Regions from separate parts of the Homo sapiens genome. Here region 1 is linked to region 2. The links are contacts of gene promoters, found by promoter capture Hi-C in blood cells and fetal thymus (Javierre and others, 2016). All regions are on one chromosome and are shown on one strand. The core of a region is centred on a gene start or on the middle of the fragment in contact, and the rest is flanking DNA. Distances in the headings are between cores, read along the strand shown.

What was found. The method cuts DNA at HindIII sites, captures the fragments that hold promoters and counts their contacts. A CHiCAGO score of 5 or more calls a contact.
Region 1: a fragment that was not itself captured here is called in contact with the fragment with the promoter of EGF in region 2 in 3 of 17 cell types (total CD8 T cells, naive B cells and erythroblasts); the score reaches 6.2 in total CD8 T cells.

Annotation. Positions count from the first base shown.
Region 1 is chr4:109,409,794-109,413,451 of GRCh38, forward strand. No RefSeq gene overlaps it. Among named protein-coding and RNA genes, the nearest start is that of SEC24B, 22 kb to the right of the region's middle. The HindIII fragment of the contact is 221 bases long and covers 2,012-2,232 here.
Region 2 is chr4:109,911,224-109,914,774 of GRCh38, forward strand. EGF (epidermal growth factor) reads left to right here and starts at 1,660. Exons shown (of 24, transcript NM_001963.6): 1 at 1,660-2,239. The coding sequence starts at 2,113. The HindIII fragment of the contact is 2,188 bases long and covers 322-2,509 here.

The sequences.
Region 1 (3,658 bases), core at 872-3,371, 500 kb before region 2:
GACTGAGGCAGGAGGATCACTTGAGGTGAGGAGTTCAAGACCAGCCTAGGCAACATAGTGAGACCCCATCTCCATAAAATTTTTTTAAAAATTAGCTGGGTGTGGTGATGTCAACTGTAGTCCTAGCTACTCAGGGAGCTAGGACAGAAGCATCGCTTTACCCCAGGAGGTCAAGGCTGCAGTGAGCTATGATGGTGCCACTGCACTCCAACCTGGGTGACAGAGCGAGACACTATTTCAATTTTTGTAAAATTAAAAAATTAAAATTAAAATTGAGTGTCTATTCAGCAGGGGAAAGAAGAGAAGGTTCAATCTCTGCCCTTGAGAAGCTAAGAGTTTAATAGGCAAATGGAATATATATGCCAAATAAATACAGGACATTTTAATAAAGCAACATGTTAATGCCATCAAATTGTATTCCTTTGGAGGACTTAAGGCATGTATTCTTTTTCTGAATAGCTGAATAATCTGAACAGGTGAGTTTACCCATTGTTTCATTCCCCATTTACATGTCCAACCTCTTTATTTCAACCTCCCTGAATAAACTTTTTAAAAGGCTACTCACTACCATCACTCCTTAAACAGTATTTGGGCCTTGCTGGGACAGATTGGTGGTGAGTCCATAACAAAGGGCAGGAAGTGACTCGGTAAATCCTTTTTTTTTTTTTCTGGGACGGAGTCTCACTCTGTTGCTCAGGCTGGAGTGCAGTGGCGCGATCTCAGCTCGCTGCAAACTCCGCATCCTGGGTTCAAGCAATTCTCCTCCCTCAGGCTCCCGAGTAGCTAGGATTACAGGCGGCACGCCCAGCTAATTTTTGTATTTTTAGTAGAGACGGGGTTTCACATGTTGGCCAGGCTGGTCTTGAACTCCTGACCTTATGATCCGCCCGCCTTGGCCTCCCAAAGTGCTGGGATTATAGGCGTGAGCCACCTCACCTGGCTGTGACTTGGTAAATTCTAGGGACTGACCAAAGCCAAGCATAGAATGGCTTTGTTATCCCAAAATTGTGATTACTTCAAGCCACGGTGGAGAGATGAAAATGTAGATGAGAGGAAAAGCAAATTCAAAAGCCAAACATGGCTATATTAAGCATTGAGGTGAAAGAGTAGGGTGAGGACCCAAACCACTGGCAACAACACTGGAAGCCAAGAGAGTGAGAGAACGGAATGCAGGGCAGTGGAGCTGGTGAGTCAGGCATCTGAGACAGAAGGTCCTTGTTCTGTAAATGTGCAGTGAAGTCTTGCCTGGCCTACGTGGAGAGAGGAGCCCCTTAAAGGTGACACCAAACTGGACAGCCACAGTCTACTGATCATTAATGTGTTCTGGATTGGGAGATGTTACAGGACAGTGGGACTAACAAATCTAAGTGCATGCATGCTGAAATGATGACAAATAGCAAAAGTGTCAATATAATCAAACAAAATAAATCAGGTATATTCTCGTAGGGGTGACTTTGCACTCGGATTTCAAAGCTCATATTCTAGGCCTTCTTTGCTATTGTTGACTCACCTGGTCAAATTGTCAACAGCATGCTATGGGCTCCTTTCTGCACCAATGTGCCTTTGAATCCCAAGTACCACTGCCCTCAATGTTTGAATCATCTTTGAGCCTACAGGTTAGGATTCTTGGTAGTAAAGGAAGAAGGCAGATTTTTTGAGGAGCTATTCTGGGAGCCTTCTTGTTATCCACTGGACACTGCTTATTTCACTTGTGGACTTACAATGTAGCAGCTGTGTTTCGATTTCTCCTGTAAGGCTTGCTGCAGAGGAATATCATCAATTAAAATGGACAAAAGGAGAGCACAAATTACTTTACCAGTTACCCCTAAGCTGACAGTCTGTAGATTACAACCAAATCTTAAAGTGTTTTCCCGGTCAATTGTACTATTCCATAGCTCTTAAGTGTCTATTTGAAGACCTAAAGCAGGTGATGTTTTCGGCCCAGATCCAGAGTTTAAAATTTGTGTAATATAATGTAAGTCTACCTACAGTTTTATGAGAATTTCTGTTAAGCTTTTGGGAGTTTGGTCTGTATGCTGTCATTCTTCATTTTCAAAGAATACATTTTTTAAATGATGGTGTTTCCTATATATACTTCCCATCATCGGCAACATCTAACCTGAGTTATTTATAAGCTGCTCTCAACTTTCAGAACTTTTCTGCCTCACATGTATGTTCCAGCATACCAAACTTGATTCTTTCCCCCCTCTCTCTCTCACTATGGATGGAGAAAGCTTTAAGAGGCCCTTGGTGTGTTTGTGTGGTAGGAGAGAGCTTGTGGGGAGAAGGATGGATTGGGGAGTGGAGACATGGAAACAGTTCTGGAAAAGTGGCTTTGCACAGAGCTGCTCCATCCACGTGATACTTTAGCAGTCCAAGCTGCAGAAAGGGAAGGCTGGCCACATGCCAGCTGCTCACTGGGAAAGAGTGATGGCTCCTGTAGACTGGCAGCAGGAGTTTGTTCTGCCTCTTCAAAATGCTGTCAGGAGACTTCTTTGCCAATGAATGAATCCTCAGGCCACTAAAGGGGGTAAGGGGATTCACACATACGCCTCCAGGTGAGAAGCATGGAAAAAAGGTTTCCTCTCCCCTGTACCTAGGAGATCTGGTCATAGTTCTGATTTTACTAACAGCTAGCTGTGTGGGCTAAGGTAAAATTATTTGACATCTATAAGTTCCAGTTATTTTGTTGTGAATAAAGAGGGGATCTGAGTAAAGAATGTCTCTGACTCTAAAATGCCATGGGCCTGTAATCTATCAGTGTGAGTGGTAACCTCAATAAAAGTGAAAGTCTGGTGTGGCAGCTCTTCTAGAGCTTCTTTTGTCTAGTCATGTCTATAATCAGGCCAAGTCCTGTAGTTTGTGGGATTGACACAAGATTCAAAATAACTGTGTGTCATCAGAAACAAAAGTTTGGAAAAGACATTTCCCCAAACTAAATTAAATATCACTGCTCAAAAATAATAAAATGCTATAGAAAGAAAATATCAACGCCACCACAAATCAACATTGGAGGAACAGCCCTAAAAAACATCTGGAAAATAGCATTAAGTTAACAAACCACTAGATAAAATGTTTGATTTCCCAGGCACTGATGTTACTAACTGCAAAAGCAGTTAAAAAGTCTTATGAGGAATAATATCTTGGCACTCATGAACAGCAAGAAACCCAGCTGTTTGCACTTGCTGTATAACAAGTGCCAATGCACATACTGTAATCCTCAGTCTGCTGAGCACTGCAATGGCAAACAGCACAATGTGACAGAAAGTTCCTGATTGGGCAAGAGTGATCAGGCTATTGGGACTCAGTAACAGGCAAATGCCTCCTTTTACTACAACAGCCCACTTCCAGGGCAACTTCCTTGTGAATTGTTGTTTCTTGCTATATATTCATTCATTTGCTTTTACTAGAAATTTATATCATGGTCTGGAAAGAACTTCTATTTCCAGGCAAGAGTTCCTTTAAACCATACCAGATGTCGGAAACATTATGAGACTGGCCTAAGAAGAGGAGAAGAGGGGATTTGAACATGAGCTATATAAGTGACAGACAGAAAAGGAAAGGGCCCATAGGTGAGTGGACATGAAGAGAGATAAGCAGATAAGCACACTAAAGCAAGATCATGGGAATCCGTGAAACTCTCCATCTCAAAGTGCTA
Region 2 (3,551 bases), core at 410-2,909:
GATTGATTTTCATCATCAGTCATCAGCCATAGCATCTGCTATACCTCTGTTGACTCCGTCATCTCCTAGGGAGCTTGTACTCAACATTAATGACAACATTAGCCCAGGTGACATGTAATTAAGAAAGCAAACCTTTTTCCAACCAAAAATAATATGAGAGATTCCAAATCCAAACAGAACAGAGCTGTGGATCATTTCATGTTTGTCTTCATATCATTCTCTCCACTCCACTCCACTGACACAGCGTGATGCTTGATTGTCCTCTAAGCCCCTTCCATTGCTGTCATCTGGGATGCTGGCAATGTATTGTGCTGAAAGGGAAGCTTATTAATAAAGTTAGTAACTCGAAGAGTCAGTGCAGGTTATTTGTAGGATGCTCATTATGAGTCTTGAGTCTGACTCAGTCCAGAAAGCAATGGAATATTCCGCATAACCACCTAAAGGACTTCTCTTTCCCCCTTCCCCAGGGTCTGTTTCTCCTGTAAGGGTTCAGAGCTGCCTGGCAGAGGCTGGCTGAAATAGGAGAAATCCTGACTTAAGCTGTTTCAGGAAAGTGATCCAGTCTTTGGAGAATAATCAGGACATAATTAAGTATGAGTAAAAGGCTTAGAGTTAGTCTGTTCTCCTCTGTAATGGGGTGTTCACTAGTGTGACAGTTGTTTTTGTGACTATTGCTTTTACGTACATTTTTGACCAGCACTTGGAACACTACCTCAGGGTAACTTAAATGAAAGTCCATTTTCCAGGATGGAGTAAACTGACAGAAATTTCCATCGTGCATCAAATCTGCTATAAGTTGTTTGCCTTCTGGGTATTTTTGGGCCCTAGTTGTACTCCTGAAGAAATAACCACTGTTGCTCCAAGTAGAAAGTGGTTGAGGAGACAGCTAACAGATACGTCCAGTTCTTATTTTCTATCACAGAGATGTGAAAAAAAAAAAGCCTAAATTATCTTAGAAGGAAAAGCATTCCTCTGTGCTGGATTTCCAGTGCTTCCCAGCTTTGCACTGTTAGCTTATTTTTTCCAATGTCCCTATAATAACAATCCACTCCTTTCTCTGCACTCCTGGCCCCTCGTGATGTTTTATCATGCTCATGCTGAAAGAAAAGGTGTCTGTCCATACTGTATCTCTTCATTTGGCCTCAGGGATTTCCCTTTGATTTGGAAAGAATAATCTTTCAAATTCCGCTATAAACTATACAGGAGAAAGAGAAAAATAAGATAAAGCTCCTGGAATGTGCACTGGTATTGACATTTCGTTCAAATAATGGGCTGAAGGTGAACTATCTTTACTATTGCTCATGTGAATGATCAATTATTATCAATCCAAACTATCAACAGTGCTGCTTATTATTGATTTATACTGCATGGTTTAATTTTGTCTCCATCCTTCCAGACATTAAAACATAGCCAATATTTAGCAGTTCCCGCCATTCACCATGAGCACCTCCACAGCCCCCAACTCCTCTCTCCCAGTTCTGCCCAGGATATTTATGGTGAGTAGCGAGTTATCTCCTCTTTGGCAGTCATCCCTGCTTTCCTGTGTGGAGGAATTGCCCACATTCGCATTTGCAAACAGAGGCTCACTCAAGTGTCACTAAAGGAAAGGAGGTGGAGCCTGAAGAGCTTTAAAAAGCAAAGCTGAGTCATTCCACTTTTCAAAAAGAGAAACTGTTGGGAGAGGAATCGTATCTCCATATTTCTTCTTTCAGCCCCAATCCAAGGGTTGTAGCTGGAACTTTCCATCAGTTCTTCCTTTCTTTTTCCTCTCTAAGCCTTTGCCTTGCTCTGTCACAGTGAAGTCAGCCAGAGCAGGGCTGTTAAACTCTGTGAAATTTGTCATAAGGGTGTCAGGTATTTCTTACTGGCTTCCAAAGAAACATAGATAAAGAAATCTTTCCTGTGGCTTCCCTTGGCAGGCTGCATTCAGAAGGTCTCTCAGTTGAAGAAAGAGCTTGGAGGACAACAGCACAACAGGAGAGTAAAAGATGCCCCAGGGCTGAGGCCTCCGCTCAGGCAGCCGCATCTGGGGTCAATCATACTCACCTTGCCCGGGCCATGCTCCAGCAAAATCAAGCTGTTTTCTTTTGAAAGTTCAAACTCATCAAGATTATGCTGCTCACTCTTATCATTCTGTTGCCAGTAGTTTCAAAATTTAGTTTTGTTAGTCTCTCAGCACCGCAGCACTGGAGCTGTCCTGAAGGTACTCTCGCAGGAAATGGGAATTCTACTTGTGTGGGTAAGTACTCCAATGAAAAGGTGCTCCAGGTCTCCGGGAAACTGCCCCCACATCCCTGTTGGTTCAATCTGGTATACTTGGGCATTTAACAAAGTTTGTCTTTGGGTATGTATAGTTGCTTAATTTTTGTTTTCTGATGCATGTTTATTTTCTTACTGGCCATTAGAGCTAATCTGCTACCAACTATAAAACTTCATAACTCTCAAACTGTACTTCTGTGTATAAGTGAATGAATATGCCTCATTTTAAACTAGCAGAACATTTCATGGAAGCTTCAGCTTTTACTCTGACAAGAGGAGTAATTAACACCTGGCTAATTGCTTGGAAATTAGGGAAACAGATGGTTGATTTTTTGTTTGTCTGTTTGAAACTCTTAAGCCACAAAGAAAAAAATCCTTCCTTCTGATAACTTGTAAGAATTCAGAAGTTCTAAAAATTAGTGAAAAATGGAAAGGGAACTGTGAACAAAGGTAGTTGTGAAAATTAACCTAAATTTCAATTTCAACCTCCTTCACTTTCTCCCCACTCTTACTGTTTCTGAGGCTCTGACACAACTCCGGAGTTTTAGTAACAGGTGCATTGCAACTTTAAGAACTGCCAAATATGATAATGGGTAAATAAGCCACACTGTCCTCTCATATTAAATGAATTTTTTGCCAAGGGGAAATGGGAGCTTGACTGAATGCGAATTACAATCCTGCCAAAGGATATTGCCTGAAAAACATTCTCTCTCTAACTGTTAATTCATTTATTTAATCCTTGGGTGAGCCTCCAACCTGCTGCTTAGACACGGCAGCCGCCTTTGTTGATGAGAGGTTATAGCTGCCCCGACATTCCATTTTTATCAGCTTGCCCTTTTGAGATGGCGTCTGGCTTTTAAAAAGAGGTAGATTGAGGGGGAAAACACAGTACAGTTTCCAGAAGAGACACCTATGGAAGACAGTACACAATAGGCAATAGTTTGAATAAAGAGAGCAGAATGGAGCCAAACTGCCAAAGCTAGGCTGCTGTCCTGGCTCTCCCATTAAGGAAGTTCCCGATGAGGAAATCAGGTGCTTTTGCTCAGAATCTCTGGACTCTGTTCTCAGGTAGCACTCCTTGTAACAGGTGAGCAGAACTCTAGGGTATTTGAAATAAAGACTTAATCCTAGTGATCTCTATGTTCCCAGCACCTAGGACATTCCTGCTTCCACAGTGTGTACTCAGCAAATTCTTGTGTATGAATGAGGCGTCTTTCTCTGATCTGCTAATGACATAGTCCTAGAGAACAGCAACAAAAAGAGGGTGACAAATGACAAAAATGGCCCCATGA